2 separate regions of the Homo sapiens genome follow, and region 2 is linked to region 1. The links are contacts of gene promoters, found by promoter capture Hi-C in blood cells and fetal thymus (Javierre and others, 2016). All regions are on one chromosome and are shown on one strand. The core of a region is centred on a gene start or on the middle of the fragment in contact, and the rest is flanking DNA. Distances in the headings are between cores, read along the strand shown.

What was found. The method cuts DNA at HindIII sites, captures the fragments that hold promoters and counts their contacts. A CHiCAGO score of 5 or more calls a contact.
Region 2: a contact is called between a fragment that was not itself captured here and the fragment with the promoter of HUS1 in region 1, in 2 of 17 cell types (non-activated CD4 T cells and naive B cells). The highest score is 7.1, in non-activated CD4 T cells.

The regions. Positions count from the first base shown.
Region 1 is chr7:47,977,437-47,982,166 of GRCh38, reverse strand. It overlaps HUS1 (HUS1 checkpoint clamp component), which reads left to right and starts at 2,552. Exons shown (of 8, transcript NM_004507.4): 1 at 2,552-2,699; 2 at 3,351-3,478; 3 at 3,574-3,750. The coding sequence starts at 2,648. RefSeq lists an enhancer at 2,482-2,771 and silencers at 2,842-2,901, 2,982-3,031. The HindIII fragment of the contact is 1,329 bases long and covers 2,047-3,375 here.
Region 2 is chr7:51,157,170-51,162,261 of GRCh38, reverse strand. The region is part of intron 5 of COBL (cordon-bleu WH2 repeat protein); the gene reads left to right. Among named protein-coding and RNA genes, the nearest start is that of COBL, 160 kb to the left of the region's middle. RefSeq lists an enhancer at 936-1,230. The HindIII fragment of the contact is 1,092 bases long and covers 1,356-2,447 here.

The DNA.
Region 1 (4,730 bases), core at 1,303-3,802:
TTTAAAAAATTGCTTTATCAGTTTTTATGACATAAAATTAAGCAATTTACACTAAAGATCAAGATGTTACAAAACATTGTTTACAAAGTTTATTTAGATACATTCTTTAATTATATTCATTTATCTACTAGCAGCCACTTTATTTAATGTGATGCTCAACTCTTCAAAACTCATTCATGAGGAAATTAAAAAACAGGCTTTTTCCTGCAGATCATATGGGGCAAATAAAAAATGTTGGCATGGCCGGGCTCAGTGGCTCACGCTTGTAATCCCAGCACTTTGGGAGGCCGAGGCGGGCGGATCACGAGGTCAGGAGATCGAGACCATCCTGGCTAACACGGTGAAACCCCGTCTCTACTAAAAATACAAAAAATTAGCCGGGCGTGGTGGCGGGCGCCTGTAGTCCCAGCTACTCGGGAGGCTGAGGTAGGAGAATGGCGTGAACCCGGGAGGCGGAACTTGCAGTGAGCCGAGATTGCGCCACTGCACTCCAGCCTGGGCGACAGAGCGAGATTCCGTCTCCAAAAAAAAAAAGAGTTATGCCAACATTTTTTTTTTTTTTTGAGACGGAGTCTCGCTCTGTCGCCCAGGCTGGAGTGCAGTGGCAGACCTCTGTTCACTGAAATCTCCGCCTCCTGGGTTCAAGTGATTCTCCTGCCTCAGATTCCTGAGTAGTTGGGATTACAGGCACAAGCTATCACGCCGGGCTAATTTTTGTATTTTTAGTAGAGACGGGGTTTCATCATGTTGGCCAGGCTGATCTCAGACTCCTGACCTCAGATGATCCACCCGCCTCGGCCTCCCAGAATGCTGGGATTACAGGAGAGAGCCATCCTGCCCTGCCTGTTGGCATAACTTTGAAAGTGATCTATTAAGTTTGGTTTGGCAAACACTCGCATATGACAATGAAGATTAGAATTTTGCTTCATGTTATAGTCTTAAAATAGGCAAAAACTGCAATTTTTGTATTTTGCACCTTTTTATTATTATTACACTTTAAGTTCTAGGGTACATGTGCACAACGTGCAGATTTGTTACATAGGTATGCATGTGCCATGTTGGTGTGCTGCACCCATCAACTCATCATTTACATTAGGTATTTCTCCTAACGCTATCCCTCCCCCAGGCCTCCACCCCCCAACAGGCCCCAGTGTGTGATATTCCCCTCCCTGTGTCCATGTGTTCTCATTGTTCAACTCCCACTTATGAGTGAGAACATGCGGTGTTTGGTTTTCTGTCCTTGTGATATTTTGCTGAGAATGATGGTTTCCAGCTTCATCCATGTCCCTGCAAAGGACATGAACTCATCCTTTTTTATGGCTGCATAGTATTCCATGGTGTATATGTGCCACATTTTCCTTATCCAGTCTATTATTGATGGACATTTGGGATGGTTCCAAGTCTTTGCTATTGTGAATAGTGCCACAATAAACATATGTGTGCATGTGTCTTTGAAAATTATCTGGGCCTGGCGCGGTGGCTCACGCCTATAATCCCAGCACTTTGGGAGGCCGAGGTGGGCAGATCACCTGAGGTCAGGAGTTCGAGACCAGCCTGGCCAACATGGCGAAACCCCGTCTCTACTAATAATACAAAAATTAGCCGGGCATGGTAGCTTGTGCCTGTAATCCCAACTACTTGGGAAGCTGAGGCAGGAGAATCCCTCGAACCCGGGAGGTGGAGGTTGCAGTGGGCCAAGATCACGCCATTGCACTCCAGCCAGGGCGACAGAGCCAGACTCCGTCTCAAAATCATCATCATCATCATCTGCATTATCATTATCTTGATTCTATGTGTCAAGTTAAAGACAAGGTTCTAGTCTATTTGCAAAGGACATTAAAAATAACAATTGTTAACACAGATAATCTTTAGTCTTTGAAAAACCAAATTAGATACAATTGTTGCTTCATTTCCCCCTTTAAAATTTTTCCTTTAAAAAAAATCCTAATGACATTATTTATGCTAATAAGAATTTTATCGGATGTAATAAAGTTCGTCTTGAGGCAAACTGCAGAATTATCACTTAACGTCAGTGTTCTTTAAGCTTCCCGACTTTACCAACTAGCCAGTAATATGTTCAATTTTTTTAGAAGTCATTTGAAACAATTTTCAGAACCTTAATCCACCAAGATGCTTCAATACCAAAGTACCAGTACCGTCATCTGAGGCTGGAGGGTTTAAAGCTGCTCTACCTTAGGTATATTTAAGATAATATTGTTTAACCTTTATAAACGATTAATTTTATTTGGATATTTTAAAATAACACTTGAAATAGGTGTCACAAAATTCTTTCAAAACGTGAATTCTCAGAACAACCTCCCCGAATCTGGGGCTTGAAGCCTCCGCCTCACTAAAAGTAGATCCCACCATTACCCGGCAGCGCGGAGGCATACCCGGAGACTGGGACCCCCACCTCCCCCGGGGCGTGACCTGTGATCCTTGACCCGTGACCCCACCTCCTCTAGGGCGTGACCCCCTAGCCCCACCTCCTCCGGGGCGTGGCCCGGAGATAACCCTGGTAAGAGTCGCGTAGCCCGAGCCGGGCGGAACCACTGTTCGCGCTGCCGTGTTTCCGGGCGGGGACACTCAGGGCGCGACGCTTTTCTGTTACCCACAGAGGCCCGCCGCGGCTGCGCCATCCGCGGCCATGAAGTTTCGGGCCAAGATCGTGGACGGGGCCTGTCTGAACCACTTCACACGTGAGCAGGGAGGCCGGAGAGGAGCGAGGGAGGAACGGAAGGAAGCAGTGAGCGCGCGGTGGGGACCGCGCAGGAGGATCAGAACGGGGATGGGCGCCGGAAGGGGCCGCGGGAGGATGGGGCCGGGATGGGGGTGCTGGTGTAGGCCGCGGGAGGGTGGGGCCGGGAGGGCGCGGGGCGGGTCGGAGGGCACTTGTGGGGATGAAGGCGGCTTTCAAGGGACGTTTCTGAAACTTGATTCCGATCACGTGGCTTTAAAAAAAAGCGGCCACTGCTCCCATAGACGGCTTTATCAGGCATTGACATACCTTCAAGGCCCCATTCGTCCCTCCACCCTGACAGTGCCTAACCTTGCATTTAACTGTGTATTGCAGTACCTAGTAGTCAATAAATCCATGTTGAATGAATGAATGACTGGTAGGTGCCTGTTTTCTTATTTGAACACTGATGATGTGTGCTGTACATCTCCCCTAGTTTGTTGGGAGAATTGCGTGACATCAGGGGTATTAAAGTACTTTCCAGTGTGATACCAACGTTAAGTGGTTATTTTTCCACCGAGAAGTTGATGAACAAGAAATTCTGCAAAATAAGTTGGTCTCTAGGATACATAATGTGCATTTTAGTAATTCCTTATTTTAACCCCTGCTTTAGGAATCAGTAACATGATAGCCAAGCTTGCCAAAACCTGCACCCTCCGCATCAGCCCTGATAAGCTTAACTTCATCCTTTGTGACAAGCTGGCTAATGGAGGAGTGAGCATGTGGTGTGAGCTGGAACAGGTGAGCAAAAGCTTCTGAGAGGCCTGCACACTCTGCAGATTGTCACTGGAAAGATCACATATACCCTCCCTCATCCCTCATTTTTTTTCCCTTAGGAGAACTTCTTCAACGAATTTCAAATGGAGGGTGTCTCTGCAGAAAACAATGAGATTTATTTAGAGCTAACATCGGAAAACTTATCTCGAGCCTTGAAGACTGCCCAGAATGCCAGGGCTTTGAAAATCAAACTGACTAATAAACACTTTCCCTGCCTCACGGTCTCCGTGGAGCTGGTGAGTAGGAGAGTCAGGGTTTCTAACACAGAAGTCTTGGCCTCGAAGGAATAGACATAGTTAGCCTAGCCTTTTTAACAATAAATACTGTTGAAAGCTGTTTGGTTTATTTAAATTTAAAGATCTGGTCCATAACTATATTTTGCATTAGAGTCAGTTCCTCCTCATTTTAAAATTGTGTTGTTATCATATGCATTCAGCTAGAATGCTGCTTTTTCCAAGCCGTGAAACTTCCAGCCTCTCTGTTTCTTGTAGTGGTATTGTCACCTTGTCTAGAAATCATGGTTTCTCTATCCATTTTCACCTTTGACATGTTTTCTCCCCACTCCCACCCTGCCTCATCTGCTATAATAACCTTTAAATGGCCCCTCGTTCTTCAGTACACGTATGTTTTATATGCTACTGCCAGATGAATTTAGTGCACAGCTGTCCTCCAAACACACAAATACACAAACTCATGCGCATACATACAATCCAGAGTTGCTCTTCCTACTCATAGAATGAGGTTCGTATTTCCTTTTTTTTGAGACGGAGTCTCTCTATCACCCAGGCTGGAGTGCAGTGGCGCGATCTCGGCTCACTGCAACCTCCATCTCCCGGGTTCAAGCGATTCTCATGCCTCAGCCTCCTGAGTAGCTGGAATTACAGGCACCCACCACCACACCCAGCTAATTTTTGTATTTTTTTAGTAGAGTCGGGGTATCACCATATTGGCCAGGCTGGTCTCGAACTCCTGACGTCAAGTGATCCACCTACCTCGGCCTCCCAAAGTGCTGCGATTGTAGGCATGAGCCACGGCGCCCAGCCCAGCTTTTCTTCATAACTCTCAACTCTTTGCAGTCAGGCAGTTCTCAGAGCTAATTAGGGCATTTCATGTCACAGTATAAGTTTGGTATGTTTTTTCTATTGCTTAAGGAAAAGCAAGATAGTAACGTATAATACTTTTTGTCCAAAAGTGCAAGATATTTTGGTCTGTGAGT
Region 2 (5,092 bases), core at 652-3,151, 3.2 Mb before region 1:
CACTGGACACCTGCGGGGGACTCTGGCTTAGTGGGGACATGGTCAGTATTGATTTTCCTCAAACTCAGCCTGTGTAGCTGTGAAAGCATGGAACAGATTACACTGCAGTTAACGTCATCCCACACATCTGGACTCCAAGACACGGGGAGGTCACATAGTCAGTTGTGGATGCCGGTTAATGATAAGGTGTGAGTTAGCTCTCGGGTCTCTGTTTCCTAAGTCACACAAACAGCAGTGATAAACTGTGCTAACGGATGAGACAAGGTACCTGAGTTAATTTGCAATTCAGCACACAAAAATGGAAAAGAAATTATTATATCAGTCTGATAAAGTGCAAATGTTCTGATGTAGGAGTAAAGTGACGTGGGTTCTAATCCTGGTTCTGTTATTCACCAGGACAACAGACCAGTCATTAGCAGGCCTTTCTCTGAAGAATGAACTTTTGAAAGTAACTGGCCTTTTATGGGCCCTGCTTCTTGGTTTCTTGGTTTTTTAAAAAATCCAAATTCTATAAATTTGACCAATCTAAAGGTATTACTACATGCTTCATCAGATATCTCTGCATTTCTTGATACCATAAAGTTAAAGTTCTTCTGGTAAAAGAGTTAAAAATCACTGCCTTATAAAACAAGCAAACAACAAAATAAACCTGTCTGGAGACATTTTGTCCATTTGCCCTGTTCAGGCAGTGACAGAAATAGTGTCATTATAGTGTTTCACAGATGGACGGAGCTTACATTTGAAGTGATTTCCATAGCAAAAGCCCTAAAAAAGTTTCCAGAATTCGTGTTGAGTGGCGTTGTTTCTGATGGAAGCCTCTGCAGTATTGGAGGCAGGCATTTACAGGGAAGCCCACCAGTAAAATAAAATTTTCAGAAAAAGTTATTAAAAGCTACATTTTAAAGGAAACTCCATAATTTCAGCTGCCCTGAGTCCTATGCTTACAGAGAGCCTGCATTTCCACCCAGCTGATCCGGGTCTCCAGGGGGATTACAGAGAACTTGCAAATGCGGCCCAAAGCATGTGTGGAGCTGTGCTGCCACAGGGTGGCAGTGTTGTCACACACACAGCAAATCCCCTCGCGAGCTTTTCTGGGCCTGGAAAAGCTCAAATCTGTTCTGTTTTTGGAGTGTTCATCAGTTGAGAACAGGAAAATGTGTTCCGAGGGCTGAGCCACGTGTTTATGAGGTAGAACTAATTTTTGTTATACATCAGTTGTGTAGAGATATTTTTAAAATTTAGCTTGTACCTTTAGAAAATGCTTTATAAGGCAGAGGTTGCAGTGAGCCTCGATTGCGCCACTGCACTCCAGCCTGGGCGACAGAGTGAGACTCCATCTCAAAAAAAAAAAAGCTTTATATTCAAAACAAAATAAATTGCATATGGCAGGTTTTAAGAGTAGAGTAGGAGAATCATGTCCAGTGCCTACAAGTCTAACAGAGTTTCTTGTTCCTTGTTCTCCTGAGCCTTTCTCAGTATCTGCATAGTTCTTTTAAAGGTTGTATGATCTTCTGTGTAAAGGGAAAAGCGTGGCTTTTGTTTTTGTTTGCTTGAATTTGGATTCTGAATTATTCACATACAGTTTGTGACCTCTTAGAGCCTTGTCTTCCCGTGTGTACCGTGAGCTCATAATCACCAGCACCCAGCATTCTTATGAGGATTAAATGAGTGCCAAGCACAGGAAGGAGCTCACAGCTAGCACTCGATGAAGGTTGGCTCGGCCCTGTTGCTCATTGCTTCTTTTATTCTGGTATAAGTAATGTGAAAGTCACTTTATCCCAAAAGCCTTTTTTCATTTGGGAGGTTTTCTTTATGAAAGACACCTGCAAATGTATTCGTGAATCAAAGGATATGACAACTTTATGGCATTACTGCATTGTTTCCCTTGATGACTGTGTCATCAACAACAAATAACAATATGTTATTATGGCCACTCAACTCTCCATTTCTGATTCAGAGCCTTGTGTATATAAAACTCCTATCAACTATTGGAAAGTAAATAGACCTTAATGTGTAATCTAGAAAAATCATTCTAAGGTTCTTTCCATACCTATTTGACCATTAAAAATAGGCCAGACATGGTGGCTCATGCCTGTAATCCCAGCACTTTGGGAGGCCGAGGTGGGTGGATCACCTGAGGTCAGGAGTTTGAGACCAGCCTGACCAATATGGCAAAACCCCATCTGTACTAAAAATACAAAATTAGCTGGACGTGGTGGCAGGTGTCTGTAGTCCCAGCTACTCAGGAGGCTGAGGCAGGAGAATCACTTGAACTCGGGAGGCGGAGGTTGTAGTGAGCTGAGATCGTGCCATTGCACTCCAGCCTGGGCAACAATAGTGAAACTGTCTCAAAACAACAACAAAAAAATAGTTTTAAAAATATTCTTATCATATGATCTCTAATGCAAACCTGGAACCCATCAGAGGAGGGTTTTGGTTTTAAAGCTTTGATGAATTTTTTTCCCAGAGTGTTCGATTCTTACAATGGGAGTAGTATACACATAGATCCTGAAGAGTTGATAAACAGGGCCTAATGCCAGTACCAGTTCTCGGAGGGAAAAAAATAAATGTAGATTTTTCACCACTTGGCTGAAAATGTGATGTTTGTAAGGATACTGAGGTAGAAAACGTCCCTTTCAAATACTGGTTTTCCGTATGTTCCCCTAAAACATGACTATTATTTCCACTGTCTATGTTTCCTTTCTGGCCTTCCCCTGCTCTTTGTCAGACAAGTATAAAACAAGAATCTCACTTGCCTGCACATGGATTTAAGTTGCTTCAGAGACCAGAGAAGGTGAGAAGCAGAGCTCTCTGTCCCTCGGTATCCTTTCCTGTCTAGGAGATGACATCTCCGCCATCACAGTGCCTCGGGCCAGAACCCTGGGGTCCTCTTTGCCCCCTTTGCTCTCCCACTCCACCTGCAACCCTCATAGCGTCTGTCGCCTTCAAGATACATCTAGGATCTCACCACTTCACACAGCCTGGCCTTGTCACCTGGCCCAGGCCTCCTGGCGGCTCCACTTCCCAGCACCTGTGGTCTCCAAAGCCTCCTCCCCACCTCCCTGCTTTGCGCCCTGCGGTTTCACGCGGCATCCAGAGCGCAGCGCGCGCGGCCGCCAGGTGCGCGCGGCCGGGGGCTGCAGAGAGCCTGCAACGCCGCCCCCGCTGCCCTCCTCCAAGCTCCTGGCCAGCTCTTCGTGTGTCTTGATCCAGGTTCTTAAAAAAAGGAAGTGGACTATAGACAGGGTGTCCCACACACTGGCAGTCCCAGGGTCGGCCCTTGGGGCTGCTGTTTCTCAGCTCGCCTCCCTGCCCACACAGCCCCTGCACCCCCGCGCTGTGCCTTCCCTGTCCCCGGCGCTGTGCCTTCCCTGTCCCCCACGCCTTCCCTGTCTCCCACCCCGTGCCTCGCTTTCCCTGTCCCCCGCCCTATGGACACCCCTGGCTCAGGCCAGTGTGCTTGTCCCAGCATCGCGCTCATCTCCTGTTTTTATTTGATGTTACAGATTTCATTTCATTAGGAATGAGTGTTTCCTCCCCGACTTTTGCCTGCATTCTTTTCCAGCTCCTCCCTGGAAAAGGGCAGGGGCGGACACTTTCCCAGCCTCCCACCGTGCTCTGTTCCTAGTGGCACCTGCCCCAGGGTCTGGGCCCCTAGGGATGCGTCCTCTACCCTGGAGACTGGGATCTTCTTAAATCCCCACTGCTCCCTTGTTGTCTCCTCAGCTAGCACCACCTTTGCTTCCTCTTCCAGGGTTGTCACATTTTCTTGATTTCTGCATCTTAAATATGTCCCAGGCGGACCTATAGTCCTTCCCTTTTCTTCCTGTTGAGCGATGGTTACAGGCTGTGGACGCGTGTGAGTGAGGAGGCTCCTCCCCGACCCTGCCCTTCCGCCATCCGGTAGGTTTGGGTCCATTCTTCTCCATTCTTTCAACATAAACTGCACCTTGAGGGTCTCTTCTCCTTTTTGAAATTTTGCATGGTACCAATTCATAGTAGATTACAGAGTAAAATAAATAAAATAAACAAATAGAAAATACATAGAAATAGTAAAATAAAAAGAATAATAAATAAACAGTCCCATATCAATCATCCACCATTAACAAATGTTAATGTGTGTTTAGCTACATTTGCTGCATTGTCTTTTTGTTAACGACTAAGAAACACAGCAGACACAGATGACACTGCCTCTCTAACACAACAACTGGCTCTCTTCTTCCTTCCCCAGGGGCAGCAACCCTTTTAAAAGTTTTATATTTTAAGAAGTATAGTGAAAGGCTGTCTGTCCATTAACAACACAGAGCATATTTTGTATGTTTTAACAATGTGTGTGATGATTGTCTGTATTTTGTTTATTTCAATTGACAAATAAAAATTATATATCAGTGCATTGTGCAACAGCTAAATCAAGCTAATTACCATATCCATGACCTCACATACTTATATTTTTGTGGTAACATTTAAAGTCTACCGTTTTAGTAATTTTCAAGTATATAATACATTCTTAGTAGTTATAGTCACCATATAGTACAATAAATAGACTTCCTGAAGTGATTATTTATTTTCCAAAGTCTGAATTTTGACTTAGAGAATAAGAACAATGAATATTGAGGGGGAAAAAATAAGGAAAGAAAGAAGGAGAAAAGAAAAGGGAGAAGAGAGCAGAGTGCCTCCACTAAAATCCCTCCCCACATAGACACTCGCCTCTCCAACCACTTGCCCTGGGCACACTTTGAGTCTGTCCCATCAGCAGACCAGGGGGCACTGGAGACACACAGAGGAGCCAGGCCAACCCCCTGCCCTCAGAAGACACCAAGGAACCCCTTGCCGGTGCTACTGAAACTCCAAATTCTCTGGCATTGCCAGGGGCCTTGTTTATTTTTTTTGAGGCGGAGTCTTGCTGTGTTGCCCAGGCTGGAGTGCAGTGGCATGATCTTGACTCACTGCAACCTCTGCCTCCTGGGTTTAAGCAGTTCTCCTGCCTCAGCCTCCCAGGTAGCTGGGATTACAGGCCCACACCACCACGCCTGGCTAATTTTTTTGTATTTTTAGTAGAGATGGGGTTTCACCATGTTGGCCAGGCTGGTTT